3 separate regions of the Homo sapiens genome follow, and all the other regions are linked to region 1. Evidence: promoter capture Hi-C in 16 types of primary human blood cells and fetal thymus (Javierre and others, 2016). All regions are on one chromosome and are shown on one strand. The core of a region is centred on a gene start or on the middle of the fragment in contact, and the rest is flanking DNA. Distances in the headings are between cores, read along the strand shown. Region 1 holds the start of HAO1 (hydroxyacid oxidase 1). Region 2 overlaps PLCB1 (phospholipase C beta 1). Region 3 overlaps PLCB1 (phospholipase C beta 1).

Evidence for each region. Contacts are between HindIII fragments. The CHiCAGO score rates a contact against its expected background, and 5 or more counts as called.
Region 2: a contact is called between a fragment that was not itself captured here and the fragment with the promoter of HAO1 in region 1, in 1 of 17 cell types (M0 macrophages). The highest score is 5.4, in M0 macrophages.
Region 3: a fragment that was not itself captured here is called in contact with the fragment with the promoter of HAO1 in region 1 in 2 of 17 cell types (total B cells and fetal thymus); the score reaches 5.2 in total B cells.

What each region holds. Positions count from the first base shown.
Region 1 is chr20:7,938,398-7,942,062 of GRCh38, forward strand. HAO1 (hydroxyacid oxidase 1) reads right to left here and starts at 2,061. Exons shown (of 8, transcript NM_017545.3): 1 at 1,889-2,061. The coding sequence starts at 2,025. The HindIII fragment of the contact is 4,903 bases long and covers 1-2,968 here.
Region 2 is chr20:8,739,102-8,742,766 of GRCh38, forward strand. It overlaps PLCB1 (phospholipase C beta 1), which reads left to right. Exons shown (of 32, transcript NM_015192.4): 21 at 160-259; 22 at 1,243-1,347; 23 at 2,363-2,472. Among named protein-coding and RNA genes, the nearest start is that of RNU105B, 90 kb to the right of the region's middle. The HindIII fragment of the contact is 558 bases long and covers 1,815-2,372 here.
Region 3 is chr20:8,704,671-8,708,335 of GRCh38, forward strand. The region is part of intron 11 of PLCB1 (phospholipase C beta 1); the gene reads left to right. Among named protein-coding and RNA genes, the nearest start is that of RNU105B, 120 kb to the right of the region's middle. The HindIII fragment of the contact is 3,557 bases long and covers 1-3,533 here.

The sequences.
Region 1 (3,665 bases), core at 811-3,310:
GCTGAACAAAAGAGAATGATCAAGGTTCATGGAAAAGGTGACACTGCAAATTCATTTTCATTATCTGTGTCCTATCCCTAAGTTACTCGGTACACACATAGGATGGGAATACTCACTTGAATACCATGTAATTCACATAAGGCATGAGGCACTTTTCCAGTTCATAACTTAGAAGTCACCAAGCCTTCTATGTCTCCCAAAGTTTCTACATTTTAAAGGGTTGCATAGGTGATCCATCTGCTTTGGGGCGCCCCTTTGCATCCTCTCTGAGACCTCCACTTGGCCAACTATTTTGGGCCCATTTTGCATCAATTCAACCCAACAGCATTATGGAGGCTGATATGCATCCAGGGGAATGTAAGTTCCTAGGGACAGGAACTTTGTCTGGCTCACTGCTTTGTCCTCAGCATGTAGTACACAGTGTAGCTCATGGAGACTCCTAATTAGCTCTAGTTAATTAGCTAGCATGCGACAAAGGGAATTAAGAAGTAAGGAAAGCTGTATACAAATGAAATAAATAATCACTTGAGCATTGGAGGTCTAGCAATGCTGAGACACTAACTCTATAAATCTGTCAAGGGTCTGAAATTTCCTTGGTTGTAATAACCTATTTGGGTTAAAGTGTTTTCAAGAGACCACTCATAGGCAAATTTTGGTGGACAAAGTTAATATCGGCCCAAGAAGGGGCATCTTCCAAGAGCAGAAACTTTTAAATGAGTCCAAAATAGTAAATAATGATGCAGAATTTTAAGCCCCTCTACTCTCAGTCAACTTCCCTTCCCATGACTTCCCTGGCATTTGTTGAGCTCATTTGGGTTCCAGGCAAAACCTGAGACAAAGTCAAGGCTTGAAAGGGTTGGGGAGAGGCCGTATCCTTCACCCCATTGCCATTTTCAGTCTTCTACATGGATTTGTGGGTGAATCAGTGCTGCCTACCAGAGACCACCTTGGCCAGGATAATTTTATTTCTCCTAATTTAAATATGGAAAACTGATTTTGAGTGATTTTGTTGTAGACTAAAGAAGAAATCAGGGAGGAAGGCTAATTCTCTCCCCCTGCATATTTTCTGCCTTTTTGTCTTTATCACCATCAATGAGTACCCACAATACCGATTGCCTTTACTAACAGCCATAATGTTAGATGGATGAGACTGAGTGTAGTGTAGTGAAGGCACTCCTCTCTTGCTCCAGCAAATAAACCATTTTTGTAACTGCTATAAAAAAAAACCCTTTGAAATGATTTTATTTCTTGTTTTTATTACAAACAGAAAACATAAACCATGTCACCCACCATCTTGTGCTTTGAAATATGAAAGTCAAAGGAAAACTAATTTGGGAAGAGAGATGAAGTGCTTTGAAGGAGAGATGAAACAGCAAAGTTGAAAGATTAATGCTGCATAGACAAATTGAAATCTAAAGTGAAAGTTTAGACAACAGTAATCAAAATGAATGATAACACGAAAAGCCAGCAGGAAGAAAACATTTGAGCCAACAATCCAGTCTGGTTCATCCGGATAAGATGGTTATCTGGCATTTAATGCTGTTTCCTACACCATGAACATAAGCATTTACTGTCATACTAAGAAAAAGAAAAGTCATCCGAATTTATCGCTATTTTTACATGTAGTTAAATTAATTGTTGTCATATTTCCAAGTGAAGTAACATAGGTTTGGCTTTTGCAGTCAGTTCCTCAAGATTCACAGGCTTGGAATATTTTTTAACAATTTAAAGGCCCAAGATTTCTTACAGCCCCAAGAACTTTTCCCTCTCTACTAAGCACAAATCTGAACAAATAATTACACACCACCAACGTAAAACTAGGAGATCTTATTTTGGTACGGTCTTTGTGTAATTTTAAAACATGATTTTAAAAAATAAATTTTCTTACCTGGAAAATGCTGCAATATTATCAGCCAAAGTTTCTTCATCATTTGCCCCAGACCTGTAATAGTCATATATAGACTTTGGAAGTACTGATTTAGCATGTTGTTCATAATCATTGATACAAATTAGCCGGGGGAGCATTTTCACAGGTTATTGCTATCCCAGATGGAGTTCGTTGTTTTTTTTTTTTTAATGTATTGCTTTCTACATCCTCACTGTTCTGTTATTTGTCAATTATTAATAGACTTTTGCCAAAGTTCAGATTTAGTTCTCTGTTGCTTACATCAAGTGAGCAAACATTATATGCTTAGCCTTTGAAATTTCATTTGTAGGCTATCTGCCAAAGAACACCGAAGTCACTATCTGCCAAAGAACACCAAAGTTGAGGTTGGGAAGGCAGCAGAAGGTGATTAGGTGTCTATCACATTAAAAAGGGGAAAGGAATAAGTAAAAAATTAAAGACTTAGAGGAATACCTGTATGAAACCACTCTTGGTTCAGTTTTGCCTAAGGCTGCTTATTGCACATGGTCTGTGCCTGTGCTCTTTGCTTGATACCCAGAATAGGCTGCCCACTCATTTTCTTTCCACATTTGGATCATGCACAAATCATGTAAACAAGAGCTTATGAACTGAACGGGGCATCCATGAAATATGGGGCATCCGTGAAATTCAGGGCTTCTGCACAATATAAAATTTAGCTGATTACAAACATAGACATTTGGCTTTAACATGGAACATTAAGGCCAAATTGACAGCTAATTGTTTTATTCATTCTGTATATTTGAGGTTTACAACATGATATTATGAGATACATATACACAGAAAAATGGTTACAGTAGGGAGGCCAATATAATATATGTATCATCTCACCCGTAATTACTTTTTTGTGTGTATGACAAGAACAGCTAAAATCAACTTATTTAACAAAAATTCCTAATATGATACAATTTTATTAACTTTAGTCCTCATTTTGCACGTTTGCTCTCTAGACCAGGGGTCCCAAACTCCCCAGCATGGACTGGTACTGGTCCGTGGCCTGTTAGGAACCAAGCTGCACAGCAGGAGGTGAGCAGCCGGTGAGCAAGCTTTACAGACTGAGCTCCGCCTCCTATTGTGAACTGCACATGCGAGGGATCTAGGTTGCGCCACTCCTTATGAGAATCTAATGCCTGATGATCTGAGGTGGAACAGTTTCATTCCAAAACCATCCACCTACCCCCACTGCCCATGGAAAAATTGTATTCCACAAAACTTGTCCCTGGTGCCGAAAAGGTTAGGGACCCTGTTGTAGATTTATGTATCCTACGTGTCTACTATTTTGTATCCTTTGACCTATATCACCCCTTTTCCTCTTCCCTGCTTCCCACTAGTGGTATTCACTGTTTCATTCTCTAGCTCTGTGCATTTGAAGTCTTTTTTAAAACAAAATCCCACCTATAAGTGAAATAATGCAATAATTTCCCTTTTGTGCCTGGCTTATTTCACTTAGCATAATGTTCTCTGGGTTCTACTGCAAATGACAGGATTCCCTTCTCTTATAAGGCTGAATAATATTTCATTGTGTGTATATCTATACATTTCCCTTATCCATTTGTCTCTTAATGGGCATTTAGGTTTACCATTAATTCTTTTTTTTTTTCTTTTTGAGATGGAGTCTTTCTCTGTCTCCCAGGCTGGAGTGCAGTGGTGTGATCTCGGCTCATTGCAGCCTCTACCTCCCAGGTTCAAGAGATTATTCTGCCTCAGCCTCCCAAGTAACTGGGACTACAGGCATGTCCAC
Region 2 (3,665 bases), core at 844-3,343, 800 kb after region 1:
GATCACGCCACTGCACTTCAGCCTGGGTGACACAGCAAGACTCTATCTCAAAAAAAGAAAGAGAAAAGAAAAGCTAGTCCTGATTGAATAATACCTTTCTAATTATTTCTTGGAATTGTTCATTCTTATAACCAGGTGTGTCCTTAATGTCCTTTGTAGGTGGTTCTTCCTACTCTGGCCTGTTTGAGAATAGCAGTTTATGAAGAAGGAGGTAAATTCATTGGCCACCGTATCTTGCCAGTGCAAGCCATTCGGCCAGGTATGGGTAGTGTGCTGAGAAACCTTTTATCAAAGTTGCAAAGAAAATCATTACTGCTTAAAATATTACTAGAAAATGACTTAAGAAACTATTTTCTGCTTTGTAATTTTGTTATGTAACAAGGGCGATGAGATTTAGTTACATGTTTTTGTGACATGTTGTAGTATTAATGTTAGTCAACTCTTTCAACAATAATTATGTGTAACAAACAATCTGAAAACTTATATGCAAATATTTATCTTCGTGCTCATAGGTCTGTGGGTTGGCCGGGTTTGGCTAATCTAGCCTGGGCTCCGCAGCATAGCTGTGCTTCAGGTTCTGGGTTGGGTCTATGTCTGTCCCACATGCGCTCACTCTGGGGTCCAGGCTGAAGTGGCAGTTGCTTCTACAATATGGACTTCTCTTGGCAGAACACTGGAATGTCTAACTCTGCATGTGCATTTTAAGCCTCTACCTACACCAAATTACTAATATACTGTTGACTAAAGCAGAGCTTAAGCACAAGTCAAGAAATCACGTCAAGGCTGGGCATGGTGGCTCACGCCTATAATCTCAGCACTTTGGGAGGCTGAGGCAGGAGGATCTCTTGAGGCCAGAAGTTTGAAACCAGCCTGAGCAACAGAATGAGACCCTGTCTCTACAAAAAATAATAATAACAATTTTTTAAAAAAAGAAGTCATGTCAAGTATAATTCTGTTATGGGGGCAAGTTTGGATCAATAATTCAGTCTATGACATGTGATTTGGAATTATCTTTTGTGGGAAAAATCATACGGTTGGAAAGGAAAAAATCACATTGAATGTTTTCTTGTCTGATGAGAAAAATAATGCCTTATCATTCATAAATGTTATTAAAATGAAAAAAGTGATTTGTTTTTCATCTAAAGTAACCTGAAATACATGCTTTCATCACATAGATGCGCATAATTATAACTAACATTGGAAAGGAAATATGTGCTACACAGCATTATTCTCACCTTCCAGGCTATCACTATATCTGTCTAAGGAATGAAAGGAACCAGCCTCTGACGCTGCCTGCTGTCTTTGTCTACATAGAAGTGAAAGACTATGTGCCAGACACATATGCAGGTAAACAACTTAACTCAAATACCACTTTACTCAAAGGGGTATTTCTGTCTGAGTCACCATATATTTTTGGGTTAGTGAAAGGAAAACTGAACCAAACAAAGCAGGAGATTCTGGCTTCAGAATCACCCCTACTTTCGTATGTATGTTTAGAGGTAAATTGCTTGAGCCATTGTGAATACATTTTAATTTAACGTATTTTAATTAAAATCACAACACCTCAGTTTTTTGAATATTTATTCCCTTTTAGTCTTATTCTCATGGGCCCAGCACTTACCAACTCATGTTATCCATTACAACAAATGTCTAGGTCTGTACACTGAATTTGTCTTCCACCAATTTTAGAATGCTGATTCTTTTCATGGGTGACATCCTAAATTTAAGGAATTAACCAAGAATCATAAGTGTAAATGCTTATAGTGCCAAGTAGCTTGGGTGTAAGACACTGGGGAGTAGTGGAGACCATGGTAAGCTTGGGGCTGTCCATCCAAAGCTGGCAGCCATAACTCATTCCAGCTAGGCACTGCCCTTCAAATAACTATATTGGCAAATCATTGGGTTATCCCAACAGTCCGGAAAGCAGGCTTTTTATGTAAAATGTCTCCATTTATGAAACGTCATTTGGGCCAAATAGGACAATTGGGTGGGCCATTGCCGGAATGGATGGGACCTTCAAAAAGAAACTAAGGAATCAAGAATATTCAGGGATCCTGAGTTGAAGCCTGTCCAGTTTGACTCTCAGAACTAAACTCTTAATTTCTCTCTTCCTGAAGTTTCAACAGAGTCCTAACCCTTGTCCATGTTCAAAGTGTTGGATAGAGGAGTAGATAGTTATATGGGTAGACAGAAGAATGGAAGATGGATAATGACTGGGTGGATGGATGGATGGATGGATGGGTGGGTAGATGGGTGATGAATGAATGCATGGACTGATGGTCAGATAGATGAGTAAGTAGATGAATGATGGATAATCAATACTTCCAGGACCTTTGATCTAAAATATCTCTTCCCTATTTAGATGTCATCGAAGCTTTATCAAACCCAATCCGATATGTGAACCTGATGGAACAGAGAGCTAAGCAATTGGCTGCTTTGACACTGGAAGATGAAGAAGAAGTAAAGAAAGAGGTGAGAGGGTGTTTTAATTTTACATATAGCATTAAGCATGATCACCACACCTACTTGTTGGCTTTGCCTAAGTAATATCACATACCTTGGGAGAAGGAATAGCACATTGGAACAACACTTTCATGCAGTTTAGCATCATGTCACAGAACATCTAGATGATTGACTTAAATTTTTCACATTTCATTTTCTTTTGGCATTCTGTGGATACCACGAGCATCTTATCTTGTGATAAAATTAAACTGCACACATCTTGCTATTTCAGATGAAACTTTCTACATGATTCCATGCTAATTAAAGGTGATGAACGCATTTAAAAAGGAAGATAATCATCAAATCATTTAGGGTTTCCCTTTATCTTTAATGTAGCATGCAGGATTTTCAAAGTGCTTTTCTGATTTTTATAGTACATAAAATATTTAACACAATACCTGGAAAATAGTATGAGTCATAAAGAGTCTACTGTTATTATTAGATGGTATATTTATGTATTATAATGTGTGTCCTGCAAATAATTGATATATTATTCCAAATTAGATGTCACAATGCAAAGCATAATTAAGGAAGGGTCTAAAAATAGTAGAAATGAAGTTTAAATTTATAAAGCTTCTATGTAGACTGGCAGTCTTTTTGCTTTTAAAAAAAGTGAATTATAACTTGATTATTAAGGGTGACACTAATATTAAAAATAGTGATAAAAATTTGCTATTTTCATATTTTATTCAGAGGAAAAACTCGAGAAAAAAGATAGAAAATGGAGAACTGTCAGTATTGGGGGAAAAAACCTTGAAAATTGTTTTAATAAGTATAACTAATAGTTATCCATTAAATAGTCCATTTAAATAGTCTATTAAAGTTGACATTGTTAAGTAATGTTTTTCTTATTTCGAAAGCATCCTCGATTTATTATAGAAAATTTAAAACGTAAAAATGACAAAAGAAAACAACAAAGAAATCAACTGTAATTCAAACATCCCATCCGCTCAGAGATAGCCACATTAAATGTGGGGTGTATACATATCTAGTCTTTTTATGCACAATTGTTACTCTTTCATAAAATGGGATAATATTCACAGTCTGTGTTTTAAGTGAAAATAAAAGTATTAAGTATCTCATTGCCCATGTCATTAAATATTCTTCTATGACATGACTTTTAATAACTCATAGCCTTCTATCATATAGCTCCACCATAATTT
Region 3 (3,665 bases), core at 505-3,004, 770 kb after region 1:
CCAATTGTTTACATATTATCTGTGGCTGCTTTGGGGCTATGCATTAGTCTGGACTGTCTCTATCTCTAGAGAGACAGAGTTATTAAAAGGAACTGGCTTATGTGGTTATGGAGGCTGAGAAATCCCAAGATCTGCAGTTGGCAAGCTGGAGACCCAGCTGACCTAATGGCACAATATCAGTCCCAATCCAAAGGCCTAAGAATAAGGAGAGCTAATGGTGTAAGCTGCAGTCCAAGTCCAAGTCTCAAGGTAGGAGAAGACCAATGTCCCAGCTCAAAAACAGTCAGGCAGAAACAGCAAATTCTCCTTTACTCTTTTTTTTTTTTTCCTATTCAGGCTTCCAGTGCGTTGAATGAGGCCCATCCACATTAGGGAGGGCAGGCTGCTTAACTCGGTCTACCAATTCAAATGTTAATCTCATCCAGAAACCCCTCACAGAGACACCCAGAAGAATGTTTAACGAAATATCTGGGCACCCCATGACCCAGTCAAGTTGACACATAAAATTAATCATCACGAGCTACAAAGGCAGAGTTGAACAGTTGCCATAGAAATAGAAACTATATGGCCAGCAAAGCCTAAAATGCTACCTGGTCCTTTATGAAAAAATGTATGCTGACCTCTGAGCTAGTCAATAGAAGAATAAATGGGAACACAACTAGATAAATTCTGTTTCTCTTCTGTCATATATTAGGAGTTCATTCATTCATTTGAAAGTATTTCCTGAGCATCTAGAATGTGCCTTAGCAGAACAGTGAAGAAAACAAGTTCTTACCTCAAGAAGTTTACACTGTCTAGTGAGGAAAGATAGATCAAAATAAACACAAAGATACGGTACATAGAAACATGCCCTTTAAAGCAATCTAAATCAGTGGGCAAGGAAAAGAGAGACCTGAATTATGCTGTCTGGATGGTAGAGGCAGGCCTTTGGTAAGGTGATGTTTAGGCACAGGTGCTGTACTTACTCCCAAATCAATGCAGTAAATCATGCTTTAATGTGAGTATTTTTGACTGAAGGAACAAAGTGCAAAGATGGTGAGATGAAAGCATGCTTGATGTATTCAAGGAAAAGCAACAAGATCAATGGACTGTATCCAGGTGACAGAGAGGGAGAGGAAAAAGAGATGTATTTAAAGAAATGGCAGGTGCCAGATCAAGTTAGGCTGTGTAGATTATGATAATGAATTTGGATTTCATTCCATGTGAAATGGGAGGTCATTGGAAAGTTTATAGAAAGGAGCGAAACTGTCTACTCATGTTTAGGAGCAATGACTCTGGCTATGGTGTGGAATACAGCGGCAAGTACTAGAAGCCAGGAAAGCAATAAAAAGACTGTCAGTCAGCTTCTCCTAGGTTTTGCTGCAATAAGAAGAAACCCTAGGATCACAGTGATTTACAACCACAACGGTTTACTTCTCACACAGGTTAGATGTCAGCTGTTGCTCTGATTGCTATTGTTTGGAATTCATGTTGAAAGAACAACCCACATCTATGATATCACTGGACTCATGGGAGAAGAGAAAGAGAAATGGCTGGACAACAACATGATGGGTCTTTAAGACTCTACTCAGCAGCAGCACATGTCATTTTCATACACAGGCCCTTGGCCAAAATAAAACCACGGCCAAGCCTATGGTCAACAGGGTGTGTAGACAGAATTCTCCCAAAGGAAGGGGGAAGCAAATACGTGGGAATGGTGATAAAATCTACCACAGCAGTCACTGCAGTGGTTTTTGTATCAGGATGATAGCAGTGGAGGTGCTGACACTTGACTGTACTCGGGACCTATTTTGGACAAGATTGCTGATGAATTGAAAGGTGTGAGAGAAGGAGAGGAGGCGAGAATGGCTCTACTGTATTTATCCTTTACCTGATACACTAGTGCCAAATTTATGAAATAAACAAAATCCAGCCCTTTTTTTCCACACTTAGCATCCACATCCTTGATGACCTCTATTCTCAGTTCTTTTGAGGGCTTTGCTCTTAGCTGGCTAAGATTATTAGCTGCATGGAAGTTACTGCAATGGTTGGGTATTAATAAGCTCTAGAGTCAGACAAATCTTCCTGGGGTTTAATCTTGGATTCTCTTCTCTATGACTTAAGGTAAGTCAGTTAATATCTCTGCACCTTAGTTGAATCAAGAATAGATAACCATCATGAGCTGAGTCCTTTGCCTTCTCTTGCTGCATCTTCACAACAGATCTGTGAAGTGAGGTTTATTGCACTTTATAGATTAGCAAACCAATACACAGAGGCATTAAGTGATTTTCCCAAGGTCACACAGCTTGCAAATCTCAGAGGCAAGGATTCAAAAGTCGGTTTGAATCCAAAGCCTATACTCAAATAAATCAAATATAGCATTTAAAATCTGGATGTTGCTTGCCTTTTATAGTGCTTGCTTTTTTTGACAGACTCAACTATCGTAAAAGTTAAACTGATTATGTATGAAAGATAATCTGTGAGTTCATTTCTAAGAAACAGTAAAAGTGATTCTTCTCGCTCCATGCAGGCAAATCCTTCTTAGAGGATATATGCAAATGTAGTACAGAATTAGAAAGCCTTACTTATACTCTGGGGCCAGGGAAATAGCTTTCAGGAGTGGATATAAAGAACGCTATATATTGAATGGGGAAGGTAGAGACGATAGCAGAAAAGGCTCAGGCATAAAGAATAGGAGTGGAAATCCCTATTTAAAAGGAGAATATGAAAAAAATAAATGTAACTAAAAACAAGTGTATGGGAATATGCAACCTCACTACTACTGAAAGTGATATAATTAAACAATAAATGAGACTGCACTTTACTACCAGTTAAATAAGAAAAACATTTTTAAGAATAATGCCCAAAACTGGTGAATATGCATTGAAATCTGGTCCTGCATGCATTACTCTGGGCAATCTAAAGTGAAAAGTAATTTGAAATACATGAGGGACTGTAAGAGTATTCATATTCTTAAATCAAGAATTCCCCTTCTGAGAATTCATTCCCAGAAAATCAATCAAGATATTAGGGAAAAAATGAAGCTGTTCTCTGTAGAATTATTTGAATGACAGCTCTGAAAATGTAGCTGTCCAACAGTTGGGGAATGGTTAAATCAATTTTAATACCTTTACTTTCTAGAATTTTGTACATATATTGAAACTTGTGACATATACATTTTTAAAAATGCAGATTGAAAATTGAAGTACTGATACATGTTACAACATGGATGAACTTTGAAACCATGCTAAGTGAAAGGTGGTCGGCACAAACAACCATATATTGTATGGTTACATTTATATGAAATAATTAGAATAGGCAAATCTATGAATACATAAAGTGATGAATGATTGCCTGGGACTAGGTGTGTGGGGTGGGGTGCAGGAATGAGGAGTGACTGCTAGTGGGTACATGGTTTCTTTTTGAGGCGATAAAAATGTTCTAACTTATATTGGGATGGTGCTCGCATGACTCTCTGAATATACTAAAAACCATTGAACTGTACACTTTCAATGGGCAGATTATATCTCAAAAAAGTCACATCTCAATAACAAAGCTTTTTAAAAATACAAGTTGAGTATATACTGTAATTAAAACTAAGCTACATAAATACATGAGAGACAGACTAGAAGTGAATATAATGAAATGCTAACAATGGTTTGGTTCAGAAAGTGGATTTGTGGGTG